Linked DNA regions of Homo sapiens: regions 2 and 3 are each linked to region 1. The links are contacts of gene promoters, found by promoter capture Hi-C in blood cells and fetal thymus (Javierre and others, 2016). All regions are on one chromosome and are shown on one strand. The core of a region is centred on a gene start or on the middle of the fragment in contact, and the rest is flanking DNA. Distances in the headings are between cores, read along the strand shown. Region 1 holds the start of NDRG1 (N-myc downstream regulated 1). Region 2 overlaps PHF20L1 (PHD finger protein 20 like 1). Region 3 overlaps TG (thyroglobulin).

Region 1 (4,109 bases), core at 591-3,090:
GAAAAATTTTCCCTCACTGGGAATGCTGCAGTTGAACTAGTTCAAATCCATAAAGAATGGAAGACTGCCCAGTGGTCATTCATTCACTTATTAATTCTAGATGTTAAATTTTCTAGGGTGGGGGAATGTGCTCCTACATTCAAGGCATTCTTGAATGTAGCCAAACTTTGTAGTTTAGCCAAACTTCATAGCTAATAGCCAAACTTTGTAGTTTAGCCAAACTCTTCTAGCAGCAAAACCCATGACACTGGAACTCTGTTCTTCACACTGGTCATTTGTAATAGAATAACAGAGCTTTAGCACTAGATAGGTTCTGAAAGATCATTGAATCTAATCCTCTCCCTTTGCCAGTGAGAATTCTGAAGCCCAGATTTGTTGATTTGTGATCGATAGTGTCAAAGACAGGCCTGAAACACAGATGTCCTGGGTCCTAGAGGTGCTGTTTGCCCCTCTCCATATTTCTTTTGTTCCAGAAAACCCTTCTCCAAAACTGGCCCTAATAATCAGAGGGGAAAGCCATGGCCCCTGCCTTGGGGACAGCATGGGTTGGCACAGAAAAGAGGTTTACAATTCAGCAGGAAGTGTTGTGCGTGCGCGCGTGTGTGTCTGTGGAGGCGCAGGGAGGGTCACCTGAGCTTGCCCTGGGTCTGGTCCTGGGCTCAGTGGCAAATTCAACGCTGGGCAGGTGGCCTGAGGACAATGACGGTGCCAGCTGTGAGTCAGACTTCCTTTATTCATAAAATCATGTTCCTCCATGCAGTGCTTCTCAACCTGGCTGCACGTCAGGAGCCACCTGGGTAGCTTTGTAAAAACCCCAATGCCCAGTTGGTTTGCACCCCCTGAGATTCTGATTAAACTGTTCTGGAGTCCATCTCTCTCTTTTTATTATCTATCTATTTATTTATTTTTTAATTTGGCGGCTCCTCTGGGACTTCTCATATGCAGTAGGGGTTGAGAATTGCTGGTTTCTTTGGCCAGATGGGAACATGCAGGCCAATAGTTACGCACAAACAGAGCAGCAGAGCAGGACGGTGCTAAGGTTGGAAAGGGTGAGTCATGAAAGTTCAGGAAATCAGAATAGGAAGGGGTGAGAATCCTCTCATCTGGGCTTGTGGGGCAGGAGAGAAGAGCCCAGTGGGCAAGGTCCAGTGAGTGTGCTTAGAACTGGGAAGATGAGGGGAAGGGTAAGCGCTGGGCGGCGGTGGGCAAGATGGACGAGATTAAACGGGAGCGAGGATTTCAGCGAGAGCTTTGGCGACACGGAAGGCTGAGAATCGGAGGGAGCCTGTCGGGCGAAAGCGAAGGCGGCTGCTGGGCAGGCAGCCGAATCCGGCTGGAGAGCCGAGCTGGTGAGACCTACAGGAAGTGAAGGGAGTCGCTCAGGGCGTGGCGCAACGAGACTCTTAGAAGAAACTCTGAGGCAGAGATGGGGGGCCTCCGCCCATACGGAGACACAAGGAAGTCCACATGCACACGCACGAGCGCGCACATGAACACGCACAAGCACACAAACGCCTCCTCCGGGCAGGGCACACGCGCCCGCTGCACAGGCCGAGGCCCTGGACTCGGAGGGGACTGCAGAGCCGACCCACAACCCGGGCCCCGATGCCCCTCCCGGCCGCGCCCCTACGACTGCTTGCGCAACAGGCGGCGGCTCCAGTGGGCGCCCGCCGCGCGCTGCCGGAGCCCAGCCCAGCCCGGCGCGCCCGGGAGGAGGGAGCAGGGAGCGGGGAAGGGGTGTGTCCCGGCTGCGTGCTGGGACTGCGAGGGTCTGGGAGGGGCGAGGCGCGGGGGCGGGGCCGCGGCGCCTATAAAGTCGCCCTCCGCCCGGACGTAAACAAACCTCGCCTGGCTCCCAGCTGGTGCTGAAGCTCGTCAGTTCACCATCCGCCCTCGGCTTCCGCGGGGCGCTGGGCCGCCAGCCTCGGCACCGTCCTTTCCTTTCTCCCTCGCGTTAGGTAAGCCCGCGCCCTCTTCTCCCAGGCGCGACGCGGAGCAGAAAGGGGCCGCCCGTGCGGTGCCGCTGGAGCGCCAGGACCGCCCTTTGTAGCCCCGCGTACTCCAGGAGTAAGCGCCCCGGAGCTGCAAGTGCGCGGTCACCCCGGGGCGCGGGCGCGAGGGGGCTTTGGGTGCAGACACCGCTGAAGTGGGGGGTTCAATTACGGAAAGGGAGGAAAAAAAGACAGGGTCCCATTCATCTCCCCCCTAGCTGGGGATTGGGGTTCTGGAGGTCGGGAAGGGGGCGATGAGACGGTCCGAAAAAATACCAGGATAGCGTTTCCTGGCGTCGTCTCCGAATCCCAGCTGGCGCCGCTGGCAGGGGTGCGCGCTGGACGTGGGTGCAGAAGGGACTAGGTGAGTGTGTGTGTGTGTGTGTGTGTGTGTGTGTGTGTGTGTCTGTGTCTGGGAACGGAGAGATTGCGCGCGAGTGTGTAGATGAGGGGTTGGTAGAGGTGAGTGGCGCTGGCAAGGAGGCTGGAGAGGGGGGCGTGGGTGTGTCTGGCTTGCAGACTGGGTCGGGAACGGGTGTGGATCCGAGAGGCTGGTGGCGCTTCAGTCCCGTAGCACACACAGGGCGGTGTGCATGTGTGAGTGTAAGCGTGTGTGTGGGGGGAGGGTCCAGGGTGTGTCACAGTGCAACACGCGAGCCGGAGCAAGTGTCTGCGAGCGCCACTGGGCAGGGTGCGCCCCCGGAGGAACCCGGGATTGGCGCATCGGCGGCGTGGGAGAAGTGACCTGGGCGAGAGGGGTCTCGCGGACATTTGGCGGCCCCTTGAGCTGGCTGGAGCTAGGAGTGGCGTCATTTTCGCCTCCGCCCACCCTCCCCCGCTTTCCTCCCCTCCCCTGCCTCTGGTGCTGGCCGCTCCTGCCCTCCACGGGGGAAAACAGCTGGAATTACTTCGACGTTCCTGGGGGATCCGCCGCGGTCTCTGATTCAGCCTCGGGAGGAGATTTCGGGCTGGGCTTGGGGAATGCGGCTGGTTCTGGGGGAAACACGCTGTCACGCCTCTGTCAAATTAGTAGCTGGAGCTGGGATTTAGTGGGTCGGTTCCTTACCCACCCCTCCCCCATATCCCCCGCCTGTTGTCCCTGCTGTCCCTGGGGGTCCTGAACAGCACGCCTCTGTGGCTTGGAAGTGGGAGATGCCTGGCAGTGGGTGGGGGAGGCAGGGCCCTTGGTTATCTTATGCCCATCCAAGAACACCCCTTCCTCACGGACGCTGGGGGCACTTCAGTTTGTTTGGTTTCTTTAAGCTACTGGGAAATATCTAATATTCAGAAGTCAGCCAGTGGCCAGGCAGGAGGGCGGTAGACATCCTTATAATACCCATCAGCTGCACGGGACCTTCTCCTAAGCTGCCTCAAAAGAACATATCTAAATACAAACCCCCTGTTCTTGCTGCAGAAATGTAGTTTCAAGGCGAATTTTTCAGTCTAGACTCTTCCTGTTGAGAAATTCTGGCGTTCTTATTGAGTTTCACAAATGTGATTGAAATAAGCAAGGTACAGAGGGGGCAAACCCCAGCGCCTTTCTTGGAAGGGCTGCCTTCTGGTGGGGAAGACACACGGCTGGAGACGCAGACCGGTTCTGTGTGGTGTGTGTGGCGGCAGAGCCAGCCCCAGGCTGGGGTGGCACAGTGTCGGGGATGAAGGAAGGTGTAAGGGAGAGAGAGGGTTTTGGTGTGGATGGAAAACTGGGTGTTCCCCTGACCTGTGACTTCTTAGCTTTGTGGGACCGTGTCTCCCACTGCATCTGGGCAAGGAGGAGGATTTGCCTGCCCTGCCCTGTAACCTGGCCCCTGGCCCAGCGCCTGGCAGGTGGGAGGAGTTGAAATATGCACATGGGATGAAGTGGATGGCTCTGGGTCTTCTGCCCCATTCTCCTGTGAACCAGCAGGTTGAGTTTCGGGCGAGGTAATAGACTGTGCATGGGTGGAGGTGTTGGCTTTTGCTTTTGAGGGATCCTGGAGTGTCTGTTTGGGTCTCTTGTGAGGAAGTTCTTTTGGAGCAACAAAGTTTGATCATTTGGAATGGAATAAAAAACTCACACAGGACCTACCTAGTCCAACTTCTTTCCATTTTACAGATGGAAAATGAGGCACAGGGATG
Region 2 (4,109 bases), core at 1,022-3,521, 450 kb after region 1:
AAAAGGTAACATTTCATGTTAACCACCAATTCGTATAGTCTATAGTAATAAAACTAGATATGTGATATAAATATGTGTAGATTATGTACATATGTACGTTGAGTGTTTGTTTAAAACAAGCATACACACTTACGCATACCTGCGTATGTAGCACTGGGGGCACATACAACTCACATGAGTACTGGCAGACAGTAGGACCTAGGCTCAAAATCCAGCAAGAGCTAACACAGCAACTTAGTTGCCTTTGGTTTCAGAAATTTGTCCACTTGTGATCAAAGCTAAAAGTTTTGAGTGTGCATGTATTTTTTAAAAATAAAATTCATCTTCAGAAATGAAGCTTTTCCAGTATTCCACTACTAGCAGTTAAAAAAATCCACAGCCACAAATTATTTTGATATTCTGTCACTCCTCATCCCAGCTGAGGTTATTTACAATGTATTTTTTTTTTTCTGAAGGCAAACACCAAGCATACTCAGGATCAAACTGTACGTTGAGCCTGAATACTGCCATTCAACTATATATATGATATATATAGTATAGGTGATATATAGGTTTTGGATGGACTGGTGGCATTATGTAAGACTTAGGGTGGGAGAACTCCCACAATATTTAAAATCCTCTTTCCAGCAGAATCATGATCACTTGGCACATCGGACCCTTCTGCAAGCCAGTTTGTTTTTAATGAGCTTAATGCCTGCAATATATTCCAATTATTTGGTGTTTGTTTTTTAAATACATTCATAATGAAGTAAGAATTCCACAACTGTTTTCCCCAGAAGTGAGATTTCTACTGTCAGTTTTCTGATTGAGAACATTCATCGCCCAAGAAACAGCTCATGATCCTTTAAAAGTTTAAATACCCTAAATTTCCGTACAGCTGGATCAACTGCTGAGAAGACAGTTCTTAGAGCAACCCTGTAGAATTCTCCAGAATTTAAATTTCCTTTACAATTTTGTTTTTGGCCAAGTGCTGGTTTATAAACATAGATCTTTCTATTAAAAACTATACAAATATACCATATTTCTTTCTACAGGTATCTTGAGCTTCACGTAAGCAACTACTCAAAAATTCTGAGAACTTGAAATCCCTTAGTATACATTATATTCTACTTCATTGTTCCTTGGCATATAACACATTCTCATTTGCAGCTTGCTCATGAATTTGTTTTTAAATACTAGCTTCCTTGATAAAGTTGTTCTTCATTTTTCTTTCCAAGGTGCCATCCTATTGACATCACAAATCAGTGAATGACCAGACATTACTAAGCTTTTAAATTATCCACTTAGCCATCACGTGGATAATAAAAATGCTTTGACTGAAGAAAGCCACATTCTTTCATTAAGTGTTCACTGTTGTCATACAGAGCAAAGAGTTGCTATCTGCTGTACTTTGCCCATGTCAATTAGGAGCTGTTTTATGTGGCGTTTAAGTTGGGGCAATCTTGCAAGAGGATCTGGTGGCTCCAACTCCCCTGTGAAATCAAGCCAGCTTTCCAGAACTAAAAGAGAGAAGAAGATAAACAAATTTAAACTGCAACTGGAAGAACAGTCAGAAAATGAAACAATCAGAAAGTTGGAGCTGTGATGGAGTTAAGGGTTCACTTCCCCATCTTTAGAAGGCCAACATACTCAAGACATTTCCGAGAGGTTAGCGTCCTGTCATCCCACCCCACAGAGTTCTAGTCCCTCTTGGCAATTTTTATCTGTCATTTAAGATAATTTTCCCCTTTATATATATAGGAATTATGTATTTTTATATATAAGGGGGAAAATACATATACACACACACATAAACATATACACACACTAACTTCATTTTGAAGGTCTCCTTTTACTCACTTCTGGAATAAGATAACAACAGTTCCCTATGTTTGCTCAAGCTTTCTATTAATTTAGACTCGTCATCTCTACATAAAACATACCTAATCATATTTTTTAATCCAGAAGCTCTTCTTAACAAAGAAAAGGAAGTAGCAATTTCTCAGTGTTCTTTTCAGTTCCACTATTTTAACACTACTTTTTAAAAGACATGCAAGCGTATTAAAATTGTAGGCAGAATGCAATTGATTATATTCTATAGTTTTTATTAATGTTTCCTTTGGAAATCTACCCTAATAATATGAAATAGTATCAAGATGCATTTTCTTTTCTTCAAACATGGACTCAAAACATCACATTAACTCTACAGTTAGCTTATACCCAGATGGAAGAGGCTTCTAAAATGGGTTTCCATTTTCTCTCTTCTTCTCTCAAGGGGGAAAAAAAGGAGTAGGAGCTCTAACTTAGTGTAGAGGAGAGGTATCACGTGCTTATGCCAAATTAAAAAAAGTAAAGTTGGGGTGCAGAATATCGTCTATGATGTTAGGAAGAAACAGGAGTCAGAAAGCATTAAGAACAACATGGACTGAGAATCAGGTAGTCTAAGTTACTCTAGTTTCTCAACTATAAAGTAGTGATAGTATCTTTCTTGCCCACTTTTCAGGCCTCCTGTGTGATGACACAATTTTAAAATATAAAAGAAAACCACTTAAGGTTTACCTACTTAACTTTGTAGAAGTTTTTGTTAATTTAACAAGTGCTAACCAAAGTAAAAAATATTCAAAATGTTTTCACATTTCAAACATGCTTAAATTCCTTATGTTGACTTCCAAAGAAAGCTTAGTTCAATGAAACTAATCAATTTATTCCATAAGTGATCTATCTGGAGCCTGGCAAATAGACAGTATTTAATAAATATCCACCTTAAAAAAGTAAAAACAACCTAAGGTCATACCCGGTCACATTGTTTTAAGCGTAAAAGATCCCAAATGTGTTAAATACAATACAAAGGGAGTAATAAAGCCCCATCGGTATGGAGAGTATCTGCAGTTTTCATCCCATAATTTAAGAATTTTAAGTAACTTCTTCATAGTAACAATAAATTCACTATAGTAACTGTATTTTAGTTCTTTCTTAAATTACCATCGACTTCTTTTTCTATTAGGTCCATCCTGCTGGTAACTTCGTTCTGCACATTTTCTATGTGTGTAAGGAGATTGAGCTGCCACTGAAGATGTGAGTCTCCTGGGTCTTCGGTGCCCTTTTTATCATTATAAACAAATACTGTATTCCCTTCAGCTGGATTCTTCTCCAAAGGACCATTGGAAAATAAACACAAAGAACGGGATGAAATGCAGTCATTGAGTTAAGGATACAGGAAACACCTCATCACTGGTAACAGTTAGTGAGATCCAATCTGACTCCAGGGGTATCTTTAAAGAAGTACTGCTACATAACCAAATTCCAGCTGGTGGTTCTTAAGAGCTGATGCACCCACCACCTCCCTCCACTATGCCTCGCATGGTGCTACACAGGCAAGAAGGCTTCAATAAAATGCGCTAAATAAATGAAGTCACTAATTCTATTGTGTAATTAGAATTCCTGATTAATTTAGACTGGCCTCTTCCTCAATTAATCTCAGCTGGTGATATAAGTGGACATAAGAGTGGAAAGCAATGATGAAAAGAAATCAAGAGCGTTTCCAAAGACCAGTATAAAATCTAATTAACTACAGACTGGACTTTACTGTTATAGTACAGTAAATCAATGAAGGGAGGGAAAGGCAAAAACCTTTTACAAGTTTCAAAAGTACAAACTGCTTCACACACACACACACACACACACACACACACACAATGTGCGTTTGGATTTGCCAGAGATAACTCATTTTGCACATGGGATATTAATTAAACAAAATAACTTACCACAAACTTTATGATACGAAATACAAACGTTCCAATTCACTTAAGTACTTATTTATGGTAATTACTTGTTAAGGAATGCAGAAAAAAAACATCTAATTTTAAAGTGGCCTCATTAATTGAAAATCAGTAAAAAATAAAGGTACATTTCTAAGATAATCCCAGTGAACAGGAAATAAGTTTATAGATGTCCAATGCACATAGATCTGTCAGAATTCACCTTACTGAATAGTGGGATGCATTGACAAACATGCTAAAATTTTTTAAACAGACAATTAGAGTGCCACCTTTTATCTAACTCACATAAAGAGGAAGACAAATCATTACACCCATATGTACTTTCACATTCTTACACACTGACATTTTCGT
Region 3 (4,109 bases), core at 1,183-3,682, 400 kb after region 1:
TCAGGAGGAGAACTCTGCAGTCTTCACTTACACTGTGGAATCTGCAGAGAGCGGGCAGTCAGTGAGCCAGGGATGAACCCTCCTTTCTCATCTACACACCAGCAGTGCCCTGGAAAAGAGCCAAGGGGAGAACATTCAGGAATTGCACTAGGGACTTACCCTGGAGTGTCCCATAAACAACTTTCCTTCTTCACTCATAGCAGTGCAAGCCTGGTCGCCTTCTGTCCCCAGTCTAGACCCCCAGCCGGACATTGTCCACAATCACTCTGATGCCCCCAGCAACCACCCACTTGTCTTTCAGGCTGGTAGAAGTTTCCTGCTCCTGTTACACAAGTGAGATAACTGGAGGCCCGAGAAGCTAAGGAATTTTTCACCAGCTGCTAAAGAGGAGCCTAAGAGTCCAGCTCACTTGCCTCCCAGTGTGGGGCTCTGTCCTCTAAAATAAAAAAGGGGTGTCACTTGGCCACCTGAAGGTGCCTATCCCTCCTTACCAGTCCCAGCGTGGCACTGCACAGGCTCCCAACTTCCAAACGCATCACACTGTGGCATGTAGGGGCCCGACCGCAGAAGGGCGGATGCTCCAGCCGAGTCGTCCGGGGAAAAGCGGCGTCTCTGATAGAAGCTTAAGGCTGGAGTCAGGGAAGGAGAAAAGCAGAATATGACCACCTGCTCTGTGTGGGCTCTGTAGCTGAGAACAACCACGTATGTCCTGGTTCCAACATAAGGAGGCCTTCTTATTTATTTATTTGACAAACATTTCAACCCACAGTATTACAAAGGCTCCTTGCACAGTAGGCAGGCACTCAACAGATTGTCCTTTAAGAATAACACTTAGGCTGAAGCTTGAAAGAATATTATAGTAGACCTCTACAATAACTTCCATACAGAAATCAGTAGGTCAGTGAAGTGTCTTCAGGCACATGAGATAATAGTAATAATAGGTAGGCTCTATACTCATATGTTATGTGTGAGGCACTAGCTAAATACATACCTTAATTAATTTAATCCTCACAGCAATCTGAAGAAATGTCATGTTATCCCATTTAATGGATGAGAAAACTGAGACACAGATGGATTAAGCAACTTAACCAAGGGTTCACAGACAGAAAGAAGAGAGGTTGGCCTTGGAACACAGGAGGGCGATTGACATCAGCTGCCCTCGTAGGTTTCCCTACCAAACTCCTACAGTTTAGTTTTTAACCCCTTTGAAACTTGGATATCCACAAAAATCATATCAGATCTTCACAGCAGCTCCATGAAGCCAGAACTTTTACCCCAGGTGAGGACACAGAGGCTCAGCGAGGGAGGTTATATGATGAACCACTGGCCACCCCACTAATGAAACTGCATCTGTCCTCAGCTCTTGCAGTCCCCGACCCACTGGGCTTTGCACATGGCTTTCCCCACCACCAACATAGTACATAGTGTTCCCATTTATTGTGTTAGATTTGTCTCCTCCGCACTAGCATTTAAGCTCTTTGGTGCAGAGATTTGTGTTTATTTTGCATGTAGAGGAGTGTCTGGCTCATAGTAGGCACTCAAGAAATCACCGATTGGGAAAAAAGCGTGAATGAATGCATGAGGGGGAGAGGAAGAAGCAAGGGTGGGCAGCGGGTGGGACACACATCAGTTTGGTGTGGGTCTTACCAGGCCCAGTCTGATTTGCCACAACCACCACCCTCCTCCTAAGTGGCCATGAACTGTCGCCTGAGCTCTTTCTCCACTCCTGCTGGCACTTGGGGCAGGTTGGGGCTCCTCACCAGGATCCTGGAGGGAGAACGGGAATATCTGTGGCAGCACCATTGGCAGTCACCTGCAGTTCATTGGGACAGTTCTCCCCACTCCCCACCTTTCAGAAACAGGCTTCATGGCTCCAGACGAGAGAGCTTGCAGATACAAGGATGCCACCAACTCACAGTCAGAGCCCATCTGGGGACACCAGGACCGACCTCTGAAGCAGCCCCATACAGTGGACAGCGTTCTGGAGTCTGCCAGGCCTCCTTCTGAATCCCGGCACTGCGCCTCCTAACTGTGATCATGAGCAAGTTGCCCAACCTCTCTGAGCTTCAGTTTCCTCATCTATGGAATGGGTCTAACACTCACCTAACAAGACAACTGTGATATTTACATCAAAGGAGCTGATAGGTGTTAAACACCAAGTGCTTGCCAGACACAGCGGTGTGCATTTCCTCCCATGGCCTTCGCCACGCTCATTAGGCCCTCAGACATGGCTACCATGTTCTAGTGGCCAAAGGCACTTCGCTCTGGGCCCTCAATCCCCAGACTCTCAGGGAAAAGACCAGGCCTGGTCCTCTATGGTCCCTTCCTCTTTCCTCTACAAGCTCAGACATGCAAAGCGGAGCATGTGGCTACTTGGAGAGGAACTTCTCAGCTCGACTTCTGAAGAAAATGCCAACATGCCATTCAATGACTAATCTCAACAGCACCAGCAACATTGCCTCCCCTTTCTCGACATTTCCCTCCCTGACCAAAGTGGTCACAACTGAAGGAGCACCAATCCCACTTCTCTCTTTGATTACCTCAAATCCTGTCTTTGTACAAAAATGTAAAACAACATGGTTCTTCCCAAAAGCAGAAGTCTCCCAGTCTCTGAGGAACAGAGAAAAGCAGTGCCTAGGCATAGGGTGAGGGTAGTGGACGGAAGAGAGAGAAAGAAGGGAGGAAGAAAGCAATAAGGATGGTTAACCACCAGCTACTCAGCTCCTTGTAGGTGTCAGGCACTGTGCCACGCACCAGGGATATAGAAAGAATAAGACACAGTGCCTTGTTCTCCAAAAGAGATGTCTGGTGTGAGAGAGAAGCAGGAAACAAAGATGGCACACATGAGATTGTCACGTGGTATTAGGAGAACAAAGATCACTGAGACCCAATCCCACGCTGGCCATAGACACCCTGGAGTGCCTGCTGGCGTGGATGGGAAGGCAGGGAGCTGCCCTCCTGCTGGAGGGATTCTCTTTGACTTGGAGCAGATGTTGTCAGGGGAGGACTGTCTTGCTGTTTGGTGACTCAAGCCTAGAAAGCTAGACAGGGAATCAGCTGAGACCATTTGACAGGGATGGGGATCCTGAGTAAGATTCAAAGACAGATTAATCATTTGTCCTTGTCAAGTTGATGTGGGGTCAGTGAGAAATCTTGGAAGGGACCTGTTCTCCTGCCAGAGCAGCTGTGAGGTTATGGAGGAAGAACAAGGGCTCTAGGATGAGGCAGAGCTAGGCACTGACCTCAGCAATACCTGGAATCTGCCTGGCAGGGAACAGGAGAGATGAACTGGAGGACCAGGTCTCTGGGCTTCCCATCCAGGCCCACTGGTTATCACTTGTGTGAATTCGGGCAAGTGACTTAACCTCAGACTCCATTTCCCCATTTGCAAAGAATTGTGGATGGTGATTATACCATCATTCTCCTGGAGCTGTCAGAGGATTAAATGTGAAGATCTGATAATCTACTTAGCACAGTAAGTGCCTGCTCAAAGGTGAAGTTAGAATATTGTTTAGCTGGTTAAGGGCTGTGACTCATGCCTGTAATCCTGGCACTTTGGGAGGCCGAGGCAGACAGATCACTTGAAGTCACGGGTTCGAGACCAGCCTGGCCAACATGGTGAAATCCTGTTTCTACTAAAAATGTGCAAATATTAGCTGCATGTGGTGGCACACACCTGTAGTCCCAGCTACTCAGGTGGCTGAGGTGGGAGGATTGCTTGAGCCCAGGAGTTCGAGGCTGTGGTGAGCTATGATTGTGCCACTGCACCCCAGCCTGGGTGACAGAGCAAGACTCCGTCTCAAAAAAAAAAAAAAAGCATACTGTTCAGCTGTTATTATAGACCAGAGGACTGCAGGCTCCCTGAGCTTATGCCTCTGTCGCATGCAGGTAGTAATTCCTGCTTTTTGGAGTTACTCTCAGGATCAGATGAGATCAATGTGTCATAGTTACTTAATATCGAGGCTTCCTCTCCCCTCCTGCTGTGTGGTGTTCCTGAATCCCTGGAAATGGAGGGAAGCTTTGGAGCAGGCCGTAAGGGGTGTTTGAGCATTCACGGGCTTGGGTCCCTCGCATTTTAACAAGAATATTGGCTTTGTGGGAGCGGCAGG

What was found. Contacts are between HindIII fragments. The CHiCAGO score rates a contact against its expected background, and 5 or more counts as called.
Region 2: a contact is called between a fragment that was not itself captured here and the fragment with the promoter of NDRG1 in region 1, in 2 of 17 cell types (activated CD4 T cells and naive CD4 T cells). The highest score is 5.4, in activated CD4 T cells.
Region 3: a fragment that was not itself captured here is called in contact with the fragment with the promoter of NDRG1 in region 1 in 1 of 17 cell types (monocytes); the score reaches 5.1 in monocytes.

Annotation. Positions count from the first base shown.
Region 1 is chr8:133,294,983-133,299,091 of GRCh38, reverse strand. NDRG1 (N-myc downstream regulated 1) reads left to right here and starts at 1,840. Exons shown (of 16, transcript NM_006096.4): 1 at 1,840-1,958. RefSeq lists a silencer at 1,510-1,959. The HindIII fragment of the contact is 9,218 bases long and covers 1-4,109 here.
Region 2 is chr8:132,843,171-132,847,279 of GRCh38, reverse strand. It overlaps PHF20L1 (PHD finger protein 20 like 1), which reads right to left. Exons shown (of 21, transcript NM_016018.5): 20 at 2,962-3,124; 21 at 1-1,499. The coding sequence ends at 1,357. Among named protein-coding and RNA genes, the nearest start is that of TG, 22 kb to the left of the region's middle. RefSeq lists a silencer at 4,000-4,109. The HindIII fragment of the contact is 777 bases long and covers 1,883-2,659 here.
Region 3 is chr8:132,894,169-132,898,277 of GRCh38, reverse strand. It overlaps TG (thyroglobulin), which reads right to left. Exons shown (of 48, transcript NM_003235.5): 12 at 492-629; 13 at 32-109. Among named protein-coding and RNA genes, the nearest start is that of TG, 29 kb to the right of the region's middle. The HindIII fragment of the contact is 3,176 bases long and covers 845-4,020 here.